2 separate regions of the Homo sapiens genome follow, and region 1 is linked to region 2. Evidence: promoter capture Hi-C in human tissues and cell types (Jung and others, 2019). All regions are on one chromosome and are shown on one strand. Each heading gives the region's core, a stretch centred on a gene start or on the middle of the fragment in contact. The rest is flanking DNA. Distances are from core to core; before and after follow the strand shown.

Region 1 (5,683 bases), core at 1,573-4,072, 33 kb after region 2:
GTAAAACAGTGTGCATTAGAGCCCGGAACAGCTAACCACTGGATTAGCGGATGTCCGCTGTGTGAGTCTGATGTGCTTTTGGCAGGTAATGGTTAATTGGTAAATAGGCAATGTATTGTAACTTTCTTCTTTGCCTCTTTCCAACATTTACCAGCAGAACCTATTCTTAATTATAGTCCTAAAACACTGCAATATTAGATTTATAACCTAGTCTCAGAATACCAAAGTAACTGATTTCTCAAATAAAATTCATCTTTTTTAGTAAGGGAAAAGTTGCATGTATTTTAAAAAGAAATATCTGTAGATGGAATGAAAAAAATATTTTCATGTAAAATGGATATATCTGTTCATCCAATAGTAACCATATTATTATAATAGCCAAAATTTGCTAAATAAGGATTTCATTAGAAGAAATAAATGCTTTACTTATGTATTATAATCTGAAATCTGAAAAAACAAATATGCAATACTATTTTACATAGCTTAAAACGAAATTCTAAATAAAAATAAAGTCAATACCAGTTTTTATTTTTCAACATGGAATGTTAATTATGAAAGAACCAAGCTAAACATTGCCTTTTAAGTCAATGCACACAGAAGTAGTTTATACCTATTTAGTGCTATAAAATTGGCTCATTTGGTTTTAAATTATAGCCATTTTTCCTATACCTAAGGTAATAGGGCACTAATGAGTGACAAAATCTGGCAATGTGCACTTCAATGATCATTTTAGGATTTAACTCATCTCTGAGTTGAAGAGAGAAATAATGCTTCTCCCTGAAAACAAGCAGGTCTTCTATTCTCAAAATCAACCTTCTAAGGTTCTGTCTTTGGCCACTGGACAGATGCAGCTCCTGGGCCCTTTTAGGCTAAATTCGGGGATCTTAAAGGTAGCTACCTGGCAAGCAGCCTTATCACCAGCATGTCATGAATCCTGTCCCCTTCAGAACATTAACTGATACCTTTAGAAACAAAATCATACTGCAATGGATGACCTGAAGAGAAAAAGGATCATGGTCAGCAAAACAAGTTATCAGTTTCTTACGTTTCTGCTTTCCACACAGGATCTGAAACCTTTAACATGTCTGGAAATCCCAGAATCTTCCCAACAGTCTGTTCCTGAAAGCATGTGATATAAACAGTTACCAATCTGCTGCTCTGTACCCAGCACCTTCCTGGGCTCTGGCCCTGGTCACAGCTCCCGTTCCTCAAGGAGCGTCCAGTGCGACTGAGGAGGACAGAAAGGTTAACCACAGAGAGCTATTAAGGAGTGAAGGAGCAGAGGTAAAACAATCCAGAAGGCTGTGTGAGAGGCCGGGGCTGGGCACAGCCATCTCCTTCTTACTCTTCCTCTCCACAGATGTCCAAGGGGAACCTGCACAGCAAGCCAGGGTCACAAACAGGGCACCCAAGTTACCCACGGGGCTCAACTGATCCTAAGTACACAAAAAAGACATTAAAATTCGCCAAGAAATATTTTACAAGGTTCCACATCAGTTATTAATGGTATTTTCTTATACTGTTAAGTGACTAATTACACTTGGTAACATATTAAATTATAATTTTAGCCTCACTTCTAATCATCTTTTTTCTATCACCACAACATTTTCAGCATAATAATTCTTGGCTGCCGTTCCACTTCCTTAGTGAGACCCAGGCCAAAGAAGCTTACAACTTCCCTCCAGAAAGATCAACAGAGCAGAAAGAACCTCCACACTGAGTTCCAGCTTAAAGCAGGCATTTCCACTCAGGGCTACGCACGCTGCCCTAGCCTCGGCGCCAACACTTAACATGACAACTGTCTCATTCAGGAGCAAGATGACTGCCAAGCCAATTGCAACTATTAATGAGGAAACAGACTTTGCTTATTTCTTAACTGGTTTATATTTTTTAACATGTTTTAAAACACAAAATTTCCAGAAAGTTGAACTTATACTTTTAATTCCATTCTGGACTGCTAGCTAAATTTTACAAATACAAAGAAATATGTTATCAGTTTCTTTGTCAAATGAGAGGACACCAAAGAAATTCATCATTCAATTCTTATTTGTAGGAGCAGATTCTCTGTAACTTGTAAATTATTTTGATTTACAGTGAATCATTATTGCATTCATAAATGCTGGAAAGTTGGTGAACAACATGATATAATGACACCCCAAAATAATTTTATAACTGCAGGTGTGCAAATCGTAACATGTGGGAGATGACTCAAAGGATAATGGGGAATAAAGGAGTTTAGGAAGGTCACATAAAGGAGGGAAAGGGATGAGGGCATGTACCCAATTTTCTAAGATGTCTTCAAACCCAAACCACTCCTGTTTAGGCAGATGCAGTGGCGCAGTCAGGCACGGGCAGCAGAGTCAACAGTTACATTTAAACCAGCAAAAGCAAAATGCTTCATAATTTACAACAACCCAATCAGATTGCTCATTCTTTTGAGGTTAAATGCTACTGACATAAGCTACACCTGAATCCAATCAGTGCAGAAACATTGAGAAGATTCACACGAAAGGACTAAATTTGTCACAAATGGGTTGGTTTCCGATCTTAATGTAGCCAAGTTGCTTTACTCTGACCTCCATTGAACAAATCAACTTAATGGGCACTAGGAGTGCTATAAAACTTAACAATGGAGTGATTTTTAACTTTTAAAATATAGTTATGAAGCAAAATGTTGGATAGCTTCTACAATACTGGAAATCAAATTAAATCTAGATGTTTTTTAACAGTCTTGACAGATATAATCCTAGTTACCATGTAAATTTATGGTAAGCTGCTGTGATATTAGCCACAGGTGCTACTTTTAATATATGAGCCGCATCTGGCTGGGAATAGAATTTCTCAGAGGACTGAAAATGACCTCACTATCAGACAATGGAAGGGAAAAAAACAAGACCACTGTGGCATATAAAAAGCTGAAGATGTGGTCCACAACTAAATATTTCACATAAAATTCATTTTAACTCTGCAGTTGTAGGTTAAAGGATATTATGCCTTCAATATTTAAGAGGCATAGATGTATTTCAACCAAAAAGCCGAAAGATTAAGAATGTAAGACAGTTATGAATACCGTGGCTACAAATATAATACTAGTTTTCCAATCTTTGATCAATGTCAGAAAAAATGATGCACTAAGACTTGAAAAGAGAATTATTTCATGGTTCCCAAGCACACGACCTGATTAGACACCACGGAGCATACCAAACCATGATGTAACAATTACTGATCTCTAAGCAGCAGCCACTCTCCAGCACCTGCCCAACATTACTGGTTGTGTTGTAAAAGTTCTTTGGGGTCATTCATCGGGCCCAAGAAAACATTTTCACCAAGTGAAATTTTTTTTTTTAAAATCATTATAAGTAATTAATTACCATTCTGAGTTTGAGAACCAGCAATATCACCCAGAGACAAATACAAAGGGGAAAGTACATGTCCCTTACTTATCCAATTCAAAAATAAAAACACAAATATGTATAAAACATGGAATTGTTTGCTTTCAGGAAACCCTTCCTGAACCACTCGAAAGCCATCATTTGCCACAGAACTAGCAAGTGTGGAAATGTGATAGAGGATTTACAAAGATTTAATTTCCTATGAAATAACTCTTCCTGAATTAAACAAGCCTTCTTTATCCGAAAAAACTCTCTAAAAGAGAAATATTTCTGTGAAAATATTTCCTACACCATTGCACTAAGCTGTGAGAATGGTGGCTACAAAGCCCTATAACATAACATTTTCCTTCTGGCTGTCTCAAGTAACTTGAAGGGCTTGATTTTTTAGCTTCAATGGATCAATTCTATCTAGGTGATGATTTCTATTTACTTTTTTAACAGGTGACTGGATCTATTCCTGATCTCAATGGGCATGGAGATCCTGAGTATATTTAGCAAGAACTACCCAGTACAGCTCCCTGACACTTTTGTGTCCAACTGACAGCATTAATACGGAGCATTTAGAAAAGGTGGGCTCACAAAGCCTCTTCTGTGAGGATGGTTACCGTAGAAAGGGATTGGCTAAATTAAATATGGCTTTTTTGTTCAATGGAATAATTTATATATCTCCCACCATTCAAAATCGTGTGGTAAGCCAGCTGCAGTGGCTCATGCCTACAGTCCCAGAACTTTGGGAGGCTGAGGTGGGTGGACTGCTTGAACCCAGGAGTTCAAGACCAGCCTGCGCAATATGGCAAAACCCAGTCTCTACAAAAAATACAAAAATTAGCCGGGTGTGGTGGCGCATGCCTGTAGTCCCAGCTACTCAGGAGGCTGAGGTAGGAGGATCATCTGAGCCCAGAAGATAGAGGCTGCAGTGAGCCAAGATGGCACTACTGAATCCTGCATAGGTGACACAGTGAGACCCTGTCTCAAAAAACAAAACAAAAAATCATGAGGTAAAATATTTTACTGATGTGAAAATATTCACTATACATGAAATGAAAGAAGCAACTGACCAAAAATATCTATAATATGATCCCAAATATATATACATACATAAACATTCACACAAATGCACATTCACAGCGTTTTTAAGTGAGCAGAAAGATTACAGGTATATTTTTCTTCTTTATACTTTTCTGTTTTCCAAATTATAAAACATATTATGCAATCATAAAAAAAAATTTATTTACCAGCTGAACATGCCACTCAAATGTTAACAGGAGGGTATCATTCCTATTAGAATGAGAGGCCTGGTGGATGTGGATCTCTGTGGAGTATGAGTGACCTATAAATGTTAAACCCTTCTATTTAAAGCTCACAGTTTTAAACACATAGAAAAATGGAAGAGACTCACCCACAAGCTTACATAACAGAATCATAGTTTAAGAAACTCCGAATTGGCCAGGTGTGGTGACTCTCGCCTGTAATCACAGCACTTTGGGAGGCCAAGATGGGAGGATCGCTTGAGGCCAGGAATTCAAGACCAGCCTGGGCAACATAGTGAGATCCCATCTCCACAAAAAAAAGTAAAATTAAAAAATTTGCCAGGGGTGGGCATGGTGGCTCACATCTATAATCCCTGCCTGAGAAGGCAGGGGGGATCACTTGAGGTCAGGAGTTCAAGACCAGCCTGGCCAACATGGTGAATCCATGTTGCTACTAAAAATACAAAAATTAGCTGAGCGTGGTGGCGCATCCCTGTAATCCCAGCTACTTGAGAGGCTGAAGCAGGAGAATTGCTTGAACCCAGGAGACGGAGGTTGCAGTGAGCTGAGATCGCACCACTGCATTCCAGCCTGGGTGACAGAGCAAGACTACAACTCAAATAAAAAAAAAAATTAGCCAGGCAATGTGGCATGCATCTATAGTCCCAGCTACTCAGGAGGCGGAGGTAGGAGGATCGCTTGAGCCCAGTAATTTGAGGCTACAGTAAGCTACGATCACGTCGCTGCACTCCAATCTAAGCAACAGAGACCCCATCTCTTAAAAAATAATAAAAAGAAACAAAAAAAAATTGTTTAAAGAAACTCAGAATTAAAATGGCCCTCTCTTCTATGCATCTGTATCCACAGCTATACGGTTAGTGGCTTCGATGTTTATCTTCTGTATGCAGAGTTCCACTTCTCCAAATAAAGTTTTCAGCTGCTCTCTGCAGACCTATCTGGAAGTGACTTTCCCCTCTAGATAGATGCTCACCTCCAATCTGTAACAGACTTAGAACTGATCATTGATCAATCCAGTATTAT
Region 2 (5,187 bases), core at 2,276-4,775:
GTTGGTTGTTTAGGACAAGGTCTCACTCTGTTGCCCAGGCCAGAGTGCAGTGGTGCAATCACAGCTCACTGCAGCCTCGAACTCCCAGGCTCAAGCAATTCTCCCACCTAAACCTCTAGAGTAGCTGGGACTCAAGGTATGCACCACCATGCCCAACTTTTTTTTTTTAATAGAGATGGGAGGGGCCGGGCACAGTGGCTAACGTCTGTAATACCTGCACTCTGGGAGGCCGAGGAGGGCGGATCACGAGGTCAGGAGATTGAGACCATCCTGGCTAACACGGTGAAACCCCATCTCTACTAAACATACAAAAAATTAGCCGGGCGTTGTGGCGGGCGCCTGTAATCCCAGCTACTCGGGAGGCTGAGGCAGGAGAATGGCGTGAACCCAGGAGGTGGAGCTTGCAGTGAGCCGAGATTGCGCCACTGCACTCCAGCCTGGGTGACAGAGCGAGACTTCGTCTCAAAACAAAAAAAAAGAGAGATAGGAGTCCCACTTTGTTGCCCAGGCTTGCTCAGTTTTTGAGAGGAGATTCAAGGAGACTTAAAAACCATGTCACTGGCCAGGCGCGATGGCTCATGCCCGTAATGCCAGCACTTTGGGAGCCCGACGCAGGCAGCTCACTTGAGGTCAGGAGTTCAAGACCATCCTGGCCAACATGGCAAGACCCTATCTCTACTAAAAACACAAAAATTACCCAAGCATGATGGTGTGTGCCTGTGATCCCAGCTACTCAGTCGGCTGAGGCAGGAGAATCACTTGTACCTGGGAGGCAGAGGTTGCAGTGAGCCAAGATAGCACCATTGCACTGCAGGTTGGGCAACAGGGCGAGACTCTGTCTCAAAAAAAAAAAAAAAAAAAAATCCACCATGTCACCACTGCTGCTCTTGCCACCCTCTTCCCAGATTTTAGAGTATTTTTAGAATTCTACAGAAAATTTCTTGAAGCAAAATACCCTTAAAATCTTATAATGGGCTGGGCATGGTGGCTAACGCCTGTAATCCCAGCATTTTGGGAGGCTGAGGCGGGTGGATCACGAGGTCAAGAGATCAAGACCATCCTGGCCAAGAAGGTGAAACCCCGTCTCTACTAAAAATACAAAATTAGCTGGGCGTGGTGGCGGGTGCCTATAATCCCAGCTATTCAGGAGGCTAAGGCAGAGGAATCGCTTGAACCTGGGAGGTGGAGATGGAGGTTGCAGTGAGCTGAGATCACGCCACTGCACTCCAGCCTGACAGAGTGAGATTCTGTCTCGGAAAAAAAAAAAAATCTTATAATGTTTCCAGAAATAAAGCATGTTTTAAAAAAAGAAGAAAATGGACCCATTTTGTCTGCTTACCTCAAGAAGTCTGAACAAGCGGTACCTTATGTCATAACTGGTCCACAAGGCCATAAAAAACGCATTCGATGTGACAGTGCTAATCATAATTATCTTAAAGAAACGGCTCATTATGACTCTCTTCACAAATGCCCGACATTCATCATCGTTCCTCCTGTCAAAAAGTTGAATGTGAAGTATGGTTACAGCACAATAGAGCTAGATCCCCATAAAATGCATACCTTTTTGTAGGGACAAGGCTCTGCTTTCTCCCTTGTGTGAATATAAATTTACATATACTTTTAAATAGCAATGAGATGTTGAATAAATGACCACTGACATATATATGATGATCATGGATACTCTGTCCTCACTCAGTTACTTAGCTCCCTCTCCCTGGACCTCTGAAAAAGAATGGTCACCACTCCTTCTCCAGCAAAACAAAGTGTCATCTTCATTGACTCAACAAATCTTTATTGAGTGGCAACTACATATCAAGCAATCTAGTAGGCACTGGGAACACAGTGACAGCAAGACTAAATATTGCCAGTCTACTAAGCAAAACTGATAATCATCAAATAATCACCCATACACATGCTCACATCAGTAATAAAAAACTGAATACCCCAAGAGAAAATGGGCACACAATCTATTCATGAAATAAACACCAAAGACAAACAAACTTCTCCAAATATGTTCTACAGCAATACCAATCAGGGAGATGCAAAGTAAAACCATTGTTTTTGTTTATAAAATTAGCAATGACTTAAATGTGATAAGATCTAATGCTGGCAACAGTGTAGTATGATTGAGCACTCTCAAAAACTGCCAGAGGCATAAAAACTGACCAGCTCTTTTGAAAAGCCTGAGAACCATTCATTCTCTGACCCAAGATAATATAACCTGAAATGAAATAACTTCAACTAAACATGTCTATCTCAGTATTTTTTCCAGCACTGAGAAGCTTGAAAACAACTTAAACATCTAACAAAAAGGACTGTGTAAGTAAATTATGGTATGTCCATCTTGTGAAATACAGGCACTAAAATATGTCTATGCATTTTTCAGGATTTAGAAAAATGTTTATGATCCATTTTTATATCTTTTGTTTTTGTGTGCAGCAAAACACAAAAACCAAAGATACAAAATTCTCTGTTCAAAATTATCTCACCTGTGCAAAAATCAGCAGTAGAAAAAATCAGCAGGAAATATGCCAAAATTTTAACAGTGTCTGTCTATGGATGGTGAGGTTATAGGTGATTCTTTTTCCTGTTTATTTCCATTTATCTGTGCTTTGCAATTTTTCTCAGAGTACGTATTACTGTTTCCCATTATATGTTACAAATGAAATGAACACATTCTCATAAGTTAAAAAAATATAGAATATATATTTTTCTTTTTCCTTTTCTTTTTTTTTTTTTCTGAGACAGAGTCTCGTTCTGTCACCCAGGCTGGAGTGCAGTGGTGCAATCTTGGCTCACTGCAACCTTCGCCCCCCAGGTTAAAGGGATTCTCCTGCCTCAGCATCCTGAGTAGCTGGGACAACAGGTGCACACCATCACTCCGGGCTAATCTGTGTATTTTTAGTAGAGATGGGGTTTCGCCACGTTGGCCAGGCTGGTCTCAAACTCCTGACCTCAAGTGATCCGCCCCAGCCTCTCAAAGTGCAGGGATTACAGGTGTGAGCCACCGTGCCCAGCCAGAATGTATATACTTTTCTAATATATCAAGATATGTAATTTTCATTATCTGATTTGAGATGGGGTCTATTATAAAAAAAGAGAAAAGCCTTCAGATTATCTAACAGTCAAACTGGTCAAACTGGTCATTCAAGTCTACAGGGCACATAAAGGTAATAGCATGCCAGCCTCACCAATCATAGAAACCAGATTGTCAAGGACATGCAACTTATTTTGGTAAGCAGACGAGTATCTGAGGGAAGAGGCTGAGAGAACACTGACACCCTGCCCTCACACTTCTACTAGCACATTTCTTAACAGGCAATGGAGATAGATAATATTTACTTAAATTTCTTGAATGTTGGGCAAAATCCCACCGATGTAGTGTCAACTGGTGAACTAGAAATGACTCTCGAGTGGCGCTGGTGACGGTGTTGAGACATTTTCCAAATTTTCAACTTTTATTCCTTGCTTTTAGCATCCAACAGAAAATCTCTGCTTAGGGATTTTCCTTAGCGTCTGGATTCTGAGAGGCAGCAGAGAAGGGGCCACGAAGGGAATCCTTGCTTTATGAGGTCACTCTTGGGCATTCTGTTGCATTACCAGTGTGTAGGCCCCTGAAGTGGGGAGCTCCCAAGTGGGTCTATCATGGATTCTCTCTTCCCAAGGAGACTGAGTGCCTCCATTCAGCAAAAAGGCTATGGGCACCCAGCAATCATGAGGCTCTGGGTTAAAGCTGGAAGTCACTAGAAACAGACCACACAAAGGCCCTCCCTTCAAGAAGTGCCCCCAGCTGATAGACACAGGCCCTTAATAATGTGTTAGAAAAAGTTAAGGGTCATATATAAGGGGGAAAAGCAAGTTCTCTGGGCTCTAAGAGAAAGAGAGCACATCCAGGGCACAGCACTGGAAAACACCTGGAAGGACAAGAAAAGATTGTGATGGGTTTGACTTAGAACAAAAGAAAACAAGAGAAGCAAAGAAGGTAATAGTGAGGTAGGGATAGTGGCTCACACTTATAATCCCAGCAACTTGGGAGGCTAAGGTGGGAGGATCACTTGAGGCCAGGAGTTTGAGATCAGCCTGAGCAACATAGTGAGACCCCCATCTCTAAAAAAAAAATAAGAAATAAAAATCAGCGACGAGGCATAGCGGCTCATGCCTGTAATCCCAGCACTTTGGGAGGCCAAGGCAGGCAGGTCGCTTGAGGTCAGGAGTTTAAGACTAGTCTGGCCAACATGGTGAAACCCCATCTCTTACTAAAAAAAAATACATAAATTAGCCGCGCATGGTGGCAGTTGCCTGTAATCTCAGCTACTCAGGAGGCTGAGGATGGAGAATCACTTGAACCCAGGAGGTGGAGACTGCAGTGAGCCAAGATCGTGCCATTGCACTCCAGCCTGGGCGACAAGAGCGAAACTCCATCTCCAAAAAAAAAAAAAAAGGAAATAAAAATTACCCATGGGAGGCTGAGGCAGCAAGATAACTTGAGCCCAGGAGTTCAGGACTAGCCTGAGCAAGATAGTGAGACTGTCTCTACAAAAAATAAAAATAAAAAAAATTAGGTGGGTGTGGTGGCATGCACCTGTAGTCCCAGCTACCAGAGAGGCCAAGGTAGGAGGATCACTTTAGTCCAGGCGTTGGAGGTTACAATGAGCTGTGATCACACCACTGCACTCCAGTCTGCATGATAGAATGAGACCCCATCTCTTAAAAAAAAAAAAAAAAAGAAAAAAAGAAAGGAGGCAATATAAACCCTGAGTTGGCTAACTGCAGGCATAGGATGGGATGTGCACATATAAACCACCTAAACAGAATATAAAGAGTGAGCACATGTGGCAGAGATGTTTTAAGTACAAAAGTAATAGGGATTTTTGCTCTGTTCAACTCTCAGGATTAATATATTCTCCCCACTCACCTTCTCCTAACTCCTTTGGCTTTCAGGGCAAATCAGGACAGTGGGATCTGGGTAGCCCTGTGTTGTATTAAATGCTCAGTGGCTAAATTGGTCAATCTCCTGGACACCAAAGTTCTTGGGCTGTAAGAAAAGGAAGTAACTACCCCACCATCTCTGCTGTCCCTGGTATTCTACAACAAGTATATATGACCATTCATGGTAGGAAAATACTTTGTGGGCAACCAATATACTGAACTGGGAAATAACATCTTACGTACTCATTTTCTCCATTT

What was found. The method cuts DNA at HindIII sites, captures the fragments that hold promoters and counts their contacts. A contact is called where the count stands out against the background at its distance.
Region 1: a fragment that was not itself captured here is called in contact with the fragment with the promoter of CATSPER3 in region 2 in 1 of the 25 tissues and cell types used here (thymus).

The regions. Positions count from the first base shown.
Region 1 is chr5:134,931,937-134,937,619 of GRCh38, reverse strand. All of the region lies in intron 2 of PCBD2 (pterin-4 alpha-carbinolamine dehydratase 2), which reads right to left. Among named protein-coding and RNA genes, the nearest start is that of PCBD2, 30 kb to the right of the region's middle. The HindIII fragment of the contact is 5,267 bases long and covers 189-5,455 here.
Region 2 is chr5:134,966,245-134,971,431 of GRCh38, reverse strand. CATSPER3 (cation channel sperm associated 3) reads right to left here and starts at 3,525. Exons shown (of 8, transcript NM_178019.3): 1 at 3,343-3,525; 2 at 1,340-1,493. The coding sequence starts at 3,440. The HindIII fragment of the contact is 15,471 bases long and covers 1-5,187 here.